Linked DNA regions of Homo sapiens: all the other regions are linked to region 2. The links are contacts of gene promoters, found by promoter capture Hi-C in blood cells and fetal thymus (Javierre and others, 2016). All regions are on one chromosome and are shown on one strand. The core of a region is centred on a gene start or on the middle of the fragment in contact, and the rest is flanking DNA. Distances in the headings are between cores, read along the strand shown.

Evidence for each region. The method cuts DNA at HindIII sites, captures the fragments that hold promoters and counts their contacts. A CHiCAGO score of 5 or more calls a contact.
Region 1: a contact is called between the fragment with the promoter of KRT28 here and the fragment with the promoter of GJD3 in region 2, in 5 of 17 cell types (naive B cells, total B cells, naive CD8 T cells and 2 more). The highest score is 13.7, in naive B cells.
Region 3: the fragment with the promoter of KRT222 here is called in contact with the fragment with the promoter of GJD3 in region 2 in 4 of 17 cell types (naive B cells, total CD8 T cells, activated CD4 T cells and 1 more); the score reaches 7.0 in naive B cells.

What each region holds. Positions count from the first base shown.
Region 1 is chr17:40,798,558-40,801,257 of GRCh38, forward strand. It overlaps KRT28 (keratin 28), which reads right to left and starts at 1,402. Exons shown (of 8, transcript NM_181535.3): 1 at 887-1,402; 2 at 360-442. The coding sequence starts at 1,336. RefSeq lists an enhancer at 1-580. The HindIII fragment of the contact is 3,919 bases long and covers 1-2,700 here.
Region 2 is chr17:40,363,322-40,366,021 of GRCh38, forward strand. It overlaps GJD3 (gap junction protein delta 3), which reads right to left and starts at 1,416. Exons shown (of 1, transcript NM_152219.4): 1 at 1-1,416. The coding sequence starts at 494. GJD3-AS1 (GJD3 antisense RNA 1) reads left to right here. Exons shown (of 1, transcript NR_186704.1): 1 at 1-2,114. The HindIII fragment of the contact is 7,280 bases long and covers 1-2,700 here.
Region 3 is chr17:40,663,821-40,666,520 of GRCh38, forward strand. It overlaps KRT222 (keratin 222), which reads right to left and starts at 1,357. Exons shown (of 6, transcript NM_152349.3): 1 at 1,184-1,357. The coding sequence starts at 1,279. The HindIII fragment of the contact is 3,418 bases long and covers 543-2,700 here.

The DNA of each region.
Region 1 (2,700 bases), core at 152-2,651, 440 kb after region 2:
ACAGGATAATTGGAAGTTATTTCATCACACAAATTCCAATAGCATAACCTAGTTAAATAAAAATACACCATTTTGGAATTTTATTTTAGTTAACGTTTTTCCTTAGTTGACTAATGATTTACTGAGCATCTACTTTGTGCTTGGCAGTATTCTAGGCAGGCAGAGAAATATATTGATATTTTGTCCCAGGAATATAATAACTATGTATAAGTTGATTGTAACATTATAATACAAATCCTTTGCTTCCTTTTATCTTTTAGGTGATAGTTCATTCTACTTGGGATGAAATAGAAATTTTATTTAACAAATTAAATAAATAGAAACTTTTTTCTAGAGCAGGATTTTCTTCTGTCACTTACTTTAGCCTGAAATCATCAGCAGCCAGTCTGGCATTATCAATCTGCAGAATGACATTAGCATTAGTAGTAGTGGAGGAGATAATCTAGAATAAACCAAAACAGAGAACACAACAAGTAAGTATGCTTTTATGTGATTCATTATTTCAGGAAATGAAAAAGGTTACTCAAGTTTTTGCATAAAAATTTCACCTCCTTATGTAATAATCAAAATGTTTCAAGTTTAACTTTTAAAAATTAAAGACATGGTTTTATTTATTCTCATATATTCCCCTAAATTTAGAACTACAATACTTTTTTATTCATATGCCTATGAATGTACTTCAACATAAACAATGGAACTAATAACATTTTAACTACATTAAAATTCATGAATCAAAGGGCCCATTTTTGAATAGTAGGAAGAATTGTTTATCTAAATAAATAAATACAAGTTATAACAGTCATGAAGCATTTCTTATTGTATGTCTTTTGTTAGGTATTTCTTAGTTTTAAATACTTGGGTTAGTTCCAAATCTGTGATTTCTCACCTTATTCTTAAGATCCTCAATTGTTAGGTGATATCTGCTATAGTCATGATCAAGTCCACGGCAAGATCCAGGTCCGTATTTTTCATACCAACCCTTGATTTTTCTCTCTAATTCAGCATTTGCCTCCTCCAGAGCTCGCACATTATCCAGGTAGGATGCCAAGCGGTCATTAAGATTTTGCATGGTCACCTTCTCATTTCCAGAGAGGAGTCCCCCTTCGCTTCCAGCAAAGCCAATACAAGCAGCATTTCCAAGGGCACCACCAGCATGGCTCCCACCAGGAACACTGCCCAAGCCCCCTCCCAAGGCACAGGAAAATTCACTTCCAGCAACAGAGCCACCACATGCACTGCTGCCTGCAAAGCCTGCACCTCCATTGAGGGGTCTGACAGATCCAGCTCCAGACCTTAAGCAAACATGCCTGGATCCATTAGAAAATTGGAGAGACATGGTGTTTTGAGAAATGTTCACCTTGTCTATGCAAAACTGTAATGTCCCAAGAGAACAGAATATCATGCACTGATAATTTCTTTGGGTTTTTATATATCATTATTGGGGCGTTCCTATTTGAGTTATACATGCCAAAAGCAAAATGGCATCACTTAGATTAGCATAAAATTATGTATAATTGGGTGATTTTAAAAATAATTAATGTCTAACATCCCTCGGTGTTGCTTTGGGCTATTTCTTATCTTAAATATAATAGGGTTTGTTCTATATTAAGTTTATTAATTTAACTTCTAATTTTGAGTGAGTAATCCTTTCCTTTCATCTAGACCCTAGGCATATACTGTCATTATCTGGCGCCAGGTATTATCAAATTTTTTATAAAGTTAAGTAAGATTATGATAGAGTTCTGTGAGGTACAGTAGGGTCTCAATTACCATGGAGGGGTATAAAGGACTGCTAATTACAGAAACAGATATTTTATCCCACCAGAAAAAAATGTGTTATTTAGAAAACAGAGGCTAGTGACATCTCTGTTCTTACCATGATTATAACATCTATTTATTATCTTGGACAATGACACAAATATTGACCTATTATTTTGTTTAAAATAGCATGGTTATGATGTTTGGTGCTCTATGCTAAGTGCTAAAATGAAAGACATAGTGTTAACTAAATGCAGAAGTGAAAAATGCGTGATTACAATCTTTAAGAAATCTATTGTCAGGTCCAGACAGGGGCTGGATCATGGTTAGCTTTCTGTGCTGGTCTAAAGAGTTTGTAATGAATCCTAAGTAAAAAGCAGAGGGCAAAATGATCAGGTTGAAATGAAACAAGGTGGTCAATTACAAGGTTGGAATAATGGTCCAGGTGAGAAGGATGAAGGCAGTGGGGATGCAGAGAAGATGGCTTTGAGAGCATATGGTAATATGATTGAATTTGGAGAGTAGGGAATAAGGCAGAATTGGGGATAACTCTTAGGTAATTAATTTTAGATTCTGGGAACTCATAATATTCACTGAGATGGGGAATAGAGGAGGAGGAAGACACTGAGTTTAGGTTTGGACCAACTGGATTTGAGGGGTTGCCAGAATGTTCCAGATGAAGGTGACTGATAGCAAGAATGACTGTTTAGAATATGTATACTGAACTGGAAAAATACTTGACTAGCAATGAGTAAAAGAAAATTGGAGGGTCCAGCTCTCATTTATAATGATGTTCAACTGCATATTTGGAAGTAATCCTGGTGCAGGAATAGAAAGGATGATGATCAGATTGATGTGGGTTTTGGGATTTGAAGACAGGTCCAGAAGAAGGAAATAGTGGCAAAGAAATTTCTGGTGTTCTTGAGAAAACAATTGAGGCGA
Region 2 (2,700 bases), core at 166-2,665:
TGCGGGGCCACGCGGAAGCCGTAGAGCAGCGCCTGGCCGCCCAGGAAGGTCAGCTCGGCCAGCAGGCGCAGCGCCACGCTCAGCAGGTAGCAGCGGCGCGCGCGGCGGGCGCGCAGGGCGCACGGCGCGCACTGGGCCTCGGGCAGTCCGGGGGCGCACTGCGCCGCCGCCTCAGCGCCGCCCGCCTCCTTGCCTGCCCGGTGCATGGAGTAGACGACGAACAGCACCGGGGGCGCCGAGAGCAGCAGGATGTGGAAGAGCCAGAAGCGGTAGTGGGAGACCGGGAAGGCGCGGTCGTAGCAGGTCTGGCGACAGCCCGGCTGCAGCGTGTTGCACACGAACTCCTCTTGCTCGTCCTCGAACACGGCGCCGCCCACCGTGGCCAGCACCAGGATGCGGAAGATCAGCATGACCACCAGCCAGAGGCGGCCCACGAGCGGCGACTGCAGCTGCACGGCGTCCAGCAGCGAGCCCAGGAACGCCCACTCCCCCATGGCGCTGGGGACGCGGGGCGGGGAGTCAGGGGATGGGGCAAGTCAGGGACCCCTGCCCCTTCCAAGCCTATCGGGGTGGGGTCCGTTGGACCTTCTCTGACTTCAGGGTGAGTCGTGAGGTAGGAGAGGCCCGGGTTTAGCGATGAGACCAGTATGAAACGGAGGGCCACGGGAGGGCCCGAGGGGAGCAGGCGACGCTCAGCTATGGGTTACCTTCTCTTTGGGACCGATGGGTGCTGGGGAGGATCCCCCATTTGCATTTTAGCCGCACCCCCTGAGCCGTCTCCGTTCGACCCTGGGATCCTCCAGATCCCAGATTCTTAGGAAGGACCTTGGAGATCAGCTGGACCAGCCCCTGACTTGCCTGGTTTCGGAAGCGGAAACCCAGCGGTGCCCTTAGCTGTCAAGGATGCTGTGGGAAGAGTGGAGCCTCGAACCCGAGACGCTAGACCCAATTTGGTGCCCATGGGAGGAGTGGGAGTGGCAGAGGCAGCGAGACCACTCCTTTCTTGGCCCACCATTTCTCTCACCATTTTTACTGCAGTGAACTCCTCTCAGGGTGGGGGGCTGGTACAGAGGCAACTCCGCTTTCATAACTCTCACAGGGTCCTTTGTCGGAGGTGTCCCTGCCCTCCTACCCCAGCGTGGTGGGAGTGCGACGCCAGGCTTCTCCCTCCTCCCTGGCCTCCTGTGCCTCCAGCCTCCACATCTCCTGAGATCCTCCCCACCCCACACTTACACAGGTCCCCACACGCCCCTGGTGCCCCTAAACCGCCACCCAACCCCACTCACCCTGGGGCCGGGACTGGGGTGTCAGAGCTGAGCCAGGGACCTTGGGAGGTGGCTGGGACCGGCGCCTCCTGCTCCCTCTTTCATTTTCCCTTTCGGATTTGGCCAGGATGGAGGACAGGACAGGATGGCTGAGAGGGGCTAGCGCTCCCCCTTCTCTTAAAGGAACAGGGTGACCCTGCTGGCTGGCTCCGCCCTTGGGAACAGGCACGGACCACGCCCCTTGCTGGGCTCTGTGGCCCTCACTCTTTAGCTAAATTTCCATCTGGAAATGGGGGAGGGGGGTAACCAGAGCCACATCCTTTATCGAGGAAGCTGGGGGATTCCTAGAAGCCCTTCCCAGACAGACCCTCAGTCTGGAGCCTAGATCCACTACGCACTAACCATGCCCTGTGAAGATGGTCTTCGGGGACAGAGGGAGGTTTGGTGCTGGAGTTTAAGGGGCAGCAAACATCTAACAGCTTCTGGTTCCAGCTCTGCCACCGCTCACCTTGGACAAATCATTCGGCGGTACTGAGCCAGGCTTTCCTGCCTTGTCAACAAAGGCGGCCAGTCCAGCTGACCCCCAAGTTTCCTTCCAGCTTTACATCTTTTTTGGAACGGGGTCTCTCTACATAGCCCAGGTCGATCTTGAACTCCTGGCTTCAAGTGATCCTCACACCTTAGCCTCCTGAGTAGCTGGGATTCTCTACTTCTTAATATTGAATTCCCAACCATATTACAGAGAACCAAAAAAACCCTTGTGCCTGCAAAAAAAAAAAAAAAAAAAAAAATCCCATATGGAAAACCATTAAAATATCCCAAGTGCCTGGCTTTGATAGTTAAATAAAATCTTTGGTTTCCTTCCCACTTTTCTGTTATTTCCAGCTTTACTATAATGAACATGTTATTTATTTATTTATTTTTAATTTGTTTGTTTTGAGATGGAGTCTAGCTCTGTCGCCCAGGCTGGAGTGCAGTGGCATGATCTTGGCTGAATGCAACCTCCGCCTCCCGGGTTCAAGCGATTCTCCTGCCTCAGCCTCCCCAGTAGCTGGGATTACAGGTGTGCGCCACCACGCCCGGCTAATTTTTGTATTTTTAGTAGAGGTGGGGTTTCGCCATGTTGACCAGGCTGATCTCGAACTCTTGACCTCAAACAATCCGCCTATCTCAGCCTCCCAAAGTGCCGGGATTACAGGCGTGAGCTACCACACCCGGCCTAACATGTTATTTTATTATTTATTTATTTATTTATTTATTGAGACAGAGTTTTGCTCTTGTTGCCCAGGCTGGAGTGCAGTGGTGTGATCTCAGCTCACCGCAACCTCCTCCTCCCGGGTTCAAGCGATTCTCCTGCCTCAGCCTCCTGAATAGCTGGGATTACAGGCATGTGCCACCATGCCCAGCTAATTTTGTATTTTTAATAGAGACAGGA
Region 3 (2,700 bases), core at 107-2,606, 300 kb after region 2:
TGTAAACTAAACTCATATTTCTACTACTGCAAAGTTAAGTGTTTTGTTTATGATTTTTAGAAGTTGTCATCTATTGATTTTTTTCTTCTGTTTGTAAAGGTGAATGAACTATCCCAATGCTTACCTGTACCAGTGACTTTGCTTAATCTAAGATGTTGATCATTCTTTATGAAGGCTGAAAATGTTATCTAGAGGTGAAATTTACAATGGAACTAAAAATGAGTGGCTAATGGAATAAAGGCCTGACATTTTTCTACCAATTTTTTTTTTTAAAATTTTGGGTGATATTCTTAAGTAAACTTTTTGCTGTATTTCAGGGTTTGGAAGATAACTTGAACCCATATATGATAGGTAAACTAAAAAATCCCCTAAATTTCTTAATCTTTGTTTCTAAAATATTTGTTTGTAAATTTGTTTAAAGACTTGAGACCTTAATTACTTGCTGAAGGTGATTGTTACTTTAAAACTAAGTCTATGAAATTAGGATTTAGTCCTTATCTAAGTAGGCTCTCTTTCTCTTTTTTAAATACTTAAATATTACAAGCTTTGTAATGGAAAGAAATGTTTCTCATCTTATAGTACAGAAGCAAAAATCTTAGTGGAGAATCGTTACCAATTTGGGGAATTTCAATGGTCATAATTTATATCATTGTTTCTGAATGCCATGTTCACACACTCAGATGATTTCTATTTATAACAATCTGGTATAAAATGGAACTCGTTAAAAAGATGATAGAAACCTTTTAGAAATATCTCTAGAAAGTGTACATGCTAATAAATCTTACTTAAAGATTTTTCATTTTAAAGATGTTATTTAAATTATCTCTGTAAATAACTCCAATAATATCTTTGAAGGGTATTTGGAATGGTTCCTTCCTGAAGATTGTAAGAGGTTAGAGTGCACCATTTTATGGTATGTTGACCCCATGTTAATGATAGGAACCTCACAATTTATATAAAAATCAAATGCATCAATCAACACTTACTTAATGGCAATTTAACAATATAATCACAGTATTTCCCCCTGTAGTCCCAGTCACACTGCAGTAGAAGCTAAATTCCTTCCCCAATAGATGCTGCATCGAAAAGGAAATACTGTACCTCAGAGAGGCCGGGACAGGAATTGGGTAGACATGGACTGTCTCCTTATTCTGGAAGGTGCCTGTCTGTATGAAATCATTACCTGGATCCTTGTTGAGAGCACCGTCTCTATCTGATTTCTGGTGAGGATCTTTTCATAGTTTGCCCTGATCTCATTGAGTAGCTGGGACAGTTCCATTCTTTTCCCATCCTCCACCTTGGCTAACTGAACCTTATCGATAGGATGAGTCGCTGCGGCAGTCTGCTCGGTCTGCGCGGAAGGCAGGGAGCCTCGCAGAGTTTTAAAGATGCAGAGCTCCTTTTTCGGAGGCCACGGAAATTCTCATCTTTCTAACTAATTATGCAAATACAGGGTAAACTCTTTGCTCCTATTGTTATTGGTATAGTAGAAATGTCAGATTCTTCATGAAGGAAAGGAAAATTTCAAAAACCTGTACTGGTTCCCTGTAAAAATTGAGCACTTTGAGGGGAGGGGGAGTTCATTTTTGTGAAAAGGAAATGGGGCATAACATAAGAAAATTGCCGGGCATGGTGGCTCATGCCTGTAATCCCAGCACTTTAGGAGGTTGAGGTGGGTGGATCACCTGAGGTCGGGAGTTCGAGATCAGCCTGGCCAACATGATGAAACCCTGTCTTTACTAAAAATACAAAAATTAGCTGGGCGTGGTGGTGGGTGCCTGTAATCCCAGCTACTCGGGAGGCTGAGGCAGGAGAATTGCTTGAACCCAGGAGGTGGAGGTTGCAGTGAGCCGAGATTGAGCCACTGCACTCCAGCCTGGGTGACAGAGTGAGACTCCATCTCCAAAAAAAAAAAAAAAAAAAAAAAAGAAAATTATATTTAGTTTTCTCAAAATGTTGCAGATAAGTGCTGGTAGACTATGAGAGTTGTGAGTTAACATTTCCAAAGTTTTAACAAGGATGAAGAAATAGACCTTTTGGTGTATTCACCAAAAGAACCCTTGAGTCCTTTGGAGGGTGTAGTCAGTGTACCATTCCATCCAATCGTTGCAATCACTTGAGCCCTTCGGAGGGTGTATTTGGCGTATCATTCCATCCAATCCTTGCAATCCCTGACATTTTCTAACCTGTAAAGATGAAAAGACTGAGGCCAGAGAGGTTGAGGCATCTTGCCCAAGGTTGCTCAGTGATGTATGACATCACTGGGACTGGCTCTTTGACAACTTGCTTGTGTTCCATGTATTACCCCTGCATATCTGCCTCTGCGTTCTCTCTCTCCCCTTCTAAATTCCTGGTTTAATCTTGCCAGCTGGTTGCTAGATGTGACAGAAATATGTCGTGAGAGTGGATCTATCATTATTGTTATTTGTGGAGTGGCTTTGGCTGAATTGTATCTGGAGCACAGTTCAGGAGATAATCAGACCTGGGTTCTAGCCCTTACAGGGCCTTTGCATGCATGTCCTGCTCTTTTAATTTCTGAATTAACTCACATCTGGCCAGGCCAGTCTATGCTGGGCATTCTCACAGCCCTCTCCAAACAAAGCTGTCCTACCCACAGCTCCTGGTGAGAGGAGAGGTTCCAGGTTATTTCTGACCCACCCCTCCCTACCTCCTGCACCTTCCCCATCAGTCACAACTTGA